2 separate regions of the Homo sapiens genome follow, and region 2 is linked to region 1. Evidence: promoter capture Hi-C in 16 types of primary human blood cells and fetal thymus (Javierre and others, 2016). All regions are on one chromosome and are shown on one strand. Each heading gives the region's core, a stretch centred on a gene start or on the middle of the fragment in contact. The rest is flanking DNA. Distances are from core to core; before and after follow the strand shown.

Evidence for each region. Contacts are between HindIII fragments. The CHiCAGO score rates a contact against its expected background, and 5 or more counts as called.
Region 2: a contact is called between the fragment with the promoter of PSEN1 here and the fragment with the promoter of ZNF410 in region 1, in 8 of 17 cell types (monocytes, total B cells, fetal thymus and 5 more). The highest score is 10.1, in monocytes.

The regions. Positions count from the first base shown.
Region 1 is chr14:73,885,142-73,888,450 of GRCh38, forward strand. ZNF410 (zinc finger protein 410) reads left to right here and starts at 1,718. Exons shown (of 12, transcript NM_021188.3): 1 at 1,718-1,774. It overlaps PTGR2 (prostaglandin reductase 2), which reads left to right. Exons shown (of 10, transcript NM_001146154.2): 10 at 1-585. RefSeq lists enhancers at 1-76, 1,708-1,777 and a silencer at 1,378-1,657. The HindIII fragment of the contact is 2,164 bases long and covers 1,129-3,292 here.
Region 2 is chr14:73,134,870-73,138,178 of GRCh38, forward strand. It overlaps PSEN1 (presenilin 1), which reads left to right and starts at 1,638. Exons shown (of 12, transcript NM_000021.4): 1 at 1,638-1,714. RefSeq lists silencers at 1,418-1,497, 1,758-1,817 and an enhancer at 1,988-2,097. The HindIII fragment of the contact is 2,442 bases long and covers 386-2,827 here.

The DNA.
Region 1 (3,309 bases), core at 468-2,967:
AGCTGGGCGTGGTGGCACACGCCTGTAATCCCAGCTACTCAGGAGGCTGAGGCTGGAGAATCATTTGAACCTGGGAGGGGGAGGTTGCCGTGAGCTGAGCTTGCACCATTGCACTCCAGCCTGGGCGACAAGAGTGAAATTCCATCTCAAAAAACAAAAACAGATTGACAACAAAGACAGTTTCAGAAAATGACAGGACTGGGCAAATTAACAAATGTTTGTAAACATGAATGTTCAGGAACTACTGATGTACCTCAAAAGTTTGTTTTATTAATTGTACTCAACCCTCGCAGAACAGTAAAACTGAAGATTATTGTTTCTGAATGTTTTGGCTTATGATTGTCTACACACTGCCAATATACTTTTGTATGCAACATTTGTAATAAGTAGATTCAAACTGTGTTGGTAATCAGCCTCCCCAGTTTTCGTGAGTGGCCCTTTTTTGTTACTTTTCCTGGACCATTTCATCGCCTGAGGGGGTTTCACTTTTCTCTGTATGTTGCTAACTCCCAAATCTCCATCTGTATTTCTGACCTCTTTCTTGAGCACTGGACCTTTACCTCCAAGTAAATATCCTCAACTCTGGATTGCATCTTATACTCTGCTTTTTTCTTTTCTTTTCTTTTTTGAGATGGAGTCTTGCTCAGTCGCCCGGCGTGCAGCGGCACGATCTCGGCTCACTGCAACCTCCGCCTCCCGGGTTCAAGCGATTCTCCTGCCTCAGCCTCCCGAGTAGCTAGGATTACAGGCGCGTGCCACCACGCCCGGCTAATTTTTGTGTTTTTAGTAGAGACGGGTTTTCACGGCGTTACCCAGGATGGTCTCGATCTCCTGACCTCGTGATCCGCCCACCTTAGCCTCCCAAAGTGCTGGGATTAAAGGCGTGAGCCACGGAGTCCGGCCTACTCTGCTTTTCTAAAGTGGAATTATCTTCCTCTGAAATGTTTCTCCTTTATTTTAAATCACCATTAGTAATTTGTGTACCCAAACCTGTCATCAAGGCTTATCTTTAACCTTGAAAATGCCTTTTTAAAGAGAACTCCTTTAATTCCCACGGTTGAGTCTCTCATTCTTCCGCACGCAAATATTTTAAAATAAGTAATTTCAAGAAGTCAGTCAAACTCACAAAGCTTTAACAAGGTGGCATCCAGCTTGGAAGTCAAGTGTTCAAGCCCGCAGTCGGGACATCCAAGAGCTCTTTACATCCTAATTACAACACGGAACCCAGACTCACTGCATACCCCGTCCCGTATATAATGCAAAACTTGATTCTGCAAGTTCCTTTCTCGGGCGGTGAAACTTCGAAGGTCCTCTCCATGGAGACCTTTGATAAATGTTTAAGCAGTGATCTTTTCTTTCGCGTTTGCCTCCATTGCAACGCCTCCGCTGATGGGAAAAACTACTCCCTCCGCTACTGCGGGGTGGCAGTGACGTCAACGAATTAGCTGACCTGTTTTTTCGGGCTTCGCGGACATAGGAGTCCCGAAGGCCGAGAGTGAGTGAGTGAGTGGGAGCGGGGCGGCTGCGGCTCCTCCTGTCCGGGGCGGAGCCCTGCGTCGCGGGCCTGGGGAGGCCCCGCCAGCACCCTTGACGTCTGGGTCCCGAGCAGTGCGGCAGCCACACGACACTGAGGCGAGCGAGTGGGTGTGTGCGTGGGGGGTCAGCCAAACTTCCTGTCCCGCGCTCGAGCTGCTTCCGGCGGGAGCCGGAAGACGCTGTGTGTGGACGGAATTCGGGACCGACTGACGGCCGGCCGGCTTCCCGGAACTGGAAGGTGAGCTCCGAGGTGGGCCTGGCCACCCCTCCTCGGTTAGGTAGTACCCGAGAGGGCGGGGGCCAGTACCGGCTACTTGGGGCCTGGGGCCGAGTTCGCCCCGAGAGAGGAAACCGCCCTCCTTGGGCATCCCTCCTGGATCTGGCGGGCCCGGGAGCGGCCAGTCTGAAGCCCTGCGGCTTTGGCCCTTCCCCTCGCGGGTTTTTAGGGGCGATGTTCTTGCTCCTTTGCTTGGTTTTGGGGGTAGGGATATAGGAACAGACTGTCCTGAGAAAGCCAGAGTCAGCGAGTCCCCGGGGCGGGGGCTCTTGGACTGCACCCGCAGCCGGGGCCTGCCTACGGACCTTGGGGCCTTATTTCTGAGGCCTTTGTGGTGTGGGGTAGAGGATGCCAGGAGGCCTTGCCCTGAATGTTTCAGTCCAGAGCTACCCTCTCCTTTCATACCACTTACTTTCTGGGTTTGGAAAAGGGACAGCTGCCTACTCGGCTGGGCTGGGTCGCCCGTTTCTCCTTTGCCTGTCAGTTCGGGGGGCAGGAGTGTGTGGATTGTTTACGGCCTTCATACATTTCGTGTCGAATTTATTTTCTGAAGTTTCTCAAGATAATCCAATTTATTAAAGTTTATCCCACTTGATCATGAGGCTCAGAAATGCATTTAGGCACCATTTGGAAGTTAAATATTATTAACTTGGGACTTAAGAATTAGTACTTAGGTTGGAACGAAGGTCAACGCAGCATATTTGCAATAAATAAAAAACATTTGGAAATAAAGTCGGGCATTTTGTTAGGGAGTGAGAAATTGCACTTGGTTTTTTCTTAGTGTGGTGCAGAGTAAAAGACAACTAAAGTAGCAGTCAGAAGTTTTAAGTTCTAGTTTTTTACGTTTTGCATCTAAGTAGATGTCTAATTTTTGGCAAGTTGCTGAATCTCTAGCTCTGGGGAGTTTTTCTGTAAACGAAGGGGTTTACCTTTAGGGCTATGACAATTTTTCCGAGGCACTGAACTTTGAGTAGAAGTGACATAAGCATTTCTTTGTTTTGGAAAGATAACTTGAATGGCTGCATAAAGGATGTATTGGAAAGAGGAATTTTAAACGCGGGGTGACCAGTTAGAGGCCTGTTTTAATAGTATAGTAGAAAGTTACTGAGAGACCTAAACAGGGCATTACAGTAGGGAACAGAGAACATTCTGGGAACAGAGAATCACGGGAATTATTTAAAAATGGAGAATGAGAGAGATTTAAAGACCTAGAATTTGCAGCTGAGTGGGAGGAAGATTGGGCGATCATTGAAATAGGTAATACAAGAAGAACAGGTTTGGTAAGGAAGATAATAATCTGGATTTTGGACATTGTTAGGTTTGAGATGCTGTTGGATATACATGTGGAGATACCTAGCAAGCAGTTAGAAATGAAGGTTTGGAGTTCAGAAGAGATGACTAGAGAAAAATGTAGGTATCATTTGTAGTGTCATTCATTCATTATACAAATATTTAGTACCTACCAGTTGCTTACTGGGAAGCTTGTATGGAAGCCC
Region 2 (3,309 bases), core at 388-2,887, 750 kb before region 1:
TTCCATGAATATCTTTGCCCAAAATTTTTGTAGATTGTTTCTAAGAATAGTTCATCAGCATTTTAAGACATCCTATTAATATTAGCGGACTGCAATCAGATTGAAGTAGTTCACAAATAGATGGGTTTTAGCCTGTATTTGTTCAATACTGAACTATTGTATGTATCAGGCACTGTTATGTATCAGGCACTGTTCTCAGCACTTGTAAAATGTATATGTGCTGCTGACAAGCATGAGCACTTGTAAATGAACAAACTAAAATCCCTACTCTTGTTAAAGTGGGGGAGGTGAAGAATTTTAAAAACATCTTTTTTCGTTCAACCTTCTCCCACAACTTATCTTTCATTCTGCTAATGGAAAATATTACTTTTGTTCTTAAATATGAAGCTTTTGTGTGTAAAAAGTATTAGAATCTCATGTTTTTGAACAAGGTTGGCAGTGGGTTGGGAGGAGGGATTGGAGATTGATGCGATAGGAATGTGAAGGGATAGCTTGGGGTGGATTTTATTTTTTAATTTTAATTTTTATTTTTTGAGATGGAGTCTTGCTCTGTCTCCCAGGCTGGAGTGCAGTGGTGTGATCTCAGCTCACGGGTTCAAGCGATTCTCCTGCTGCAGCCTCCCGAGTAGCTGGGATTACAGGAGCGCGCCACCACACCCGGCTAATTTTTTTGTATTTTTAGTAGAGACGGGGTTTCACCATGTTGGTTAGGCTGGTCTAGAACTCCCAACCTCATGATCCGCCTGCTTCGGCCTCCCAAAGTGCCGGAATTACAGGCGTGAGCGACTGCACCCGGCCGCTTGGGGGTGGATTTTTAAAGAAACTTTAGAAGAATGTAACTTGCCCAGATACCATGTACCGTTAATTTCATTTTCGGTTTTTTGAATACCCATGTTTGACATTTCTCCGTTCACCTTGATTAAATAAGGTAGTATTCATTTTTTAGTTTTAGCTTTTGGATATATGTGTAAGTGTGGTATGCTGTCTAATGAATTAGACATTGGTACTGTCTTTACCAAAACTGGACAAAGAGCAGGCAGATGCAAAAATCAAGTGACCCAGCAAACCAGACACATTTTCTGCTCTCAGCTAGCTTGCCACCTAGAAAGACTGGTTGTCAAAGTTGGAGTCCAAGAATCGCGGAGGATGTTTAAAATGCAGTTTCTCAGGTTCTCGCCACCCACCAGAAGTTTTGATTCATTGAGTGGTGGGAGAGGGCAGAGATATTTGCGATTTTAACAGCATTCTCTTGATTGTGATGCAGCTGGTTCGCAAATAGGTACCCTAAAGAAATGACAGGTGTTAAATTTAGGATGGCCATCGCTTGTATGCCGGGAGAAGCACACGCTGGGCCCAATTTATATAGGGGCTTTCGTCCTCAGCTCGAGCAGCCTCAGAACCCCGACAACCCACGCCAGCGCTCTGGGCGGATTCCGTCAGGTGGGGAAGGCCAGGTGGAGCTCTGGGTTCTCCCCGCAATCGTTTCTCCAGGCCGGAGGCCCCGCCCCCTTCCTCCTGGCTCCTCCCCTCCTCCGTGGGCCGGCCGCCAACGACGCCAGAGCCGGAAATGACGACAACGGTGAGGGTTCTCGGGCGGGGCCTGGGACAGGCAGCTCCGGGGTCCGCGGTTTCACATCGGAAACAAAACAGCGGCTGGTCTGGAAGGAACCTGAGCTACGAGCCGCGGCGGCAGCGGGGCGGCGGGGAAGCGTATGTGCGTGATGGGGAGTCCGGGCAAGCCAGGAAGGCACCGCGGACATGGGCGGCCGCGGGCAGGGCCCGGCCCTTTGTGGCCGCCCGGGCCGCGAAGCCGGTGTCCTAAAAGATGAGGGGCGGGGCGCGGCCGGTTGGGGCTGGGGAACCCCGTGTGGGAAACCAGGAGGGGCGGCCCGTTTCTCGGGCTTCGGGCGCGGCCGGGTGGAGAGAGATTCCGGGGAGCCTTGGTCCGGAAATGCTGTTTGCTCGAAGACGTCTCAGGGCGCAGGTGCCTTGGGCCGGGATTAGTAGCCGTCTGAACTGGAGTGGAGTAGGAGAAAGAGGAAGCGTCTTGGGCTGGGTCTGCTTGAGCAACTGGTGAAACTCCGCGCCTCACGCCCCGGGTGTGTCCTTGTCCAGGGGCGACGAGCATTCTGGGCGAAGTCCGCACGCCTCTTGTTCGAGGCGGAAGACGGGGTCTGATGCTTTCTCCTTGGTCGGGACTGTCTCGAGGCATGCATGTCCAGTGACTCTTGTGTTTGCTGCTGCTTCCCTCTCAGATTCTTCTCACCGTTGTGGTCAGCTCTGCTTTAGGCATATTAATCCATAGTGGAGGCTGGGATGGGTGAGAGAATTGAGGTGACTTTTCCATAATTCAGGTGAGATGTGATTAGAGTTCGATCTGCGGTGGTGGCAGAGGCTTACAAGAAACACTAACGGGACATGGGAACCAATTGAGGATCAGGGAATAAAGTGTGAAGTTGACTAGGAGGTTTTCAGTTTAGAACATGGCAGAGACATTCTCAGAAATAAGGAAGTTAGGAAGAAAGACCTGGTTTAGAGAGGAGGGCGAGGAAGTGGTTTGGAAGTGTCACTTTGGAAGTGCCAGCAGGTGAAAATGCCCTGTGAACAGGACTGGAGCTGAAAACAGGAATCAATTCCATAGATTTCCAGTTGATGTTGGAGCAGTGGAGAAGTCTAAGCTAAGGAAGGGGAAGAGGAGGCCAAGGCAAACACTTAGGAACACTTGCAACGAGGGGGTGGAAGAAGAGCAAGGAGCCAGCTGAGGAGAATGAGTGTGGTTGGAGAACCACCACAGCGCAGGGTCGCCAGAGCTGAGGAAGGGGAGGGAAGCTTCAGGAAGGAAAAGGTTGGCAGGGATTTTGAGTGTTAGGCCTGGTGTAGCAGAAGGAACAGAAGATTTAGAGCAGCGCTAGCCAATAGAAATAAAATGTGAGGCCCGGGGCGGTGGCTCACGCCTGTAATCCCAGCACTTTGGGAGGCCGCGGGGCGGATCCTTGAGCTGAGGAGTTCGAGACCAGACAACACGGCGAAACCCCGGCTCTACAAAAAATTAGCTGGGCGTGGGGGCGCGCGCCTGTAGTCCCAGCTGCTCCCAAGCGAGGCTGAGGCAGGAGAATCACTTGAACCCGGGAGAAGGAGGTTGCAGTAAGCCAAGATTATGCCACTGCACTGCAGCCTGGGCAAAAGAGTGAGACTGTCTCAAAAAAAAAAAAAACCTGTTTTGTTTTTCTTTTGGAGAAAAGGCATACAAATTTATTAGCATGCAGACTGGGAGAACCACAAGGTGATTATCCCTATTTTAAATTTTCT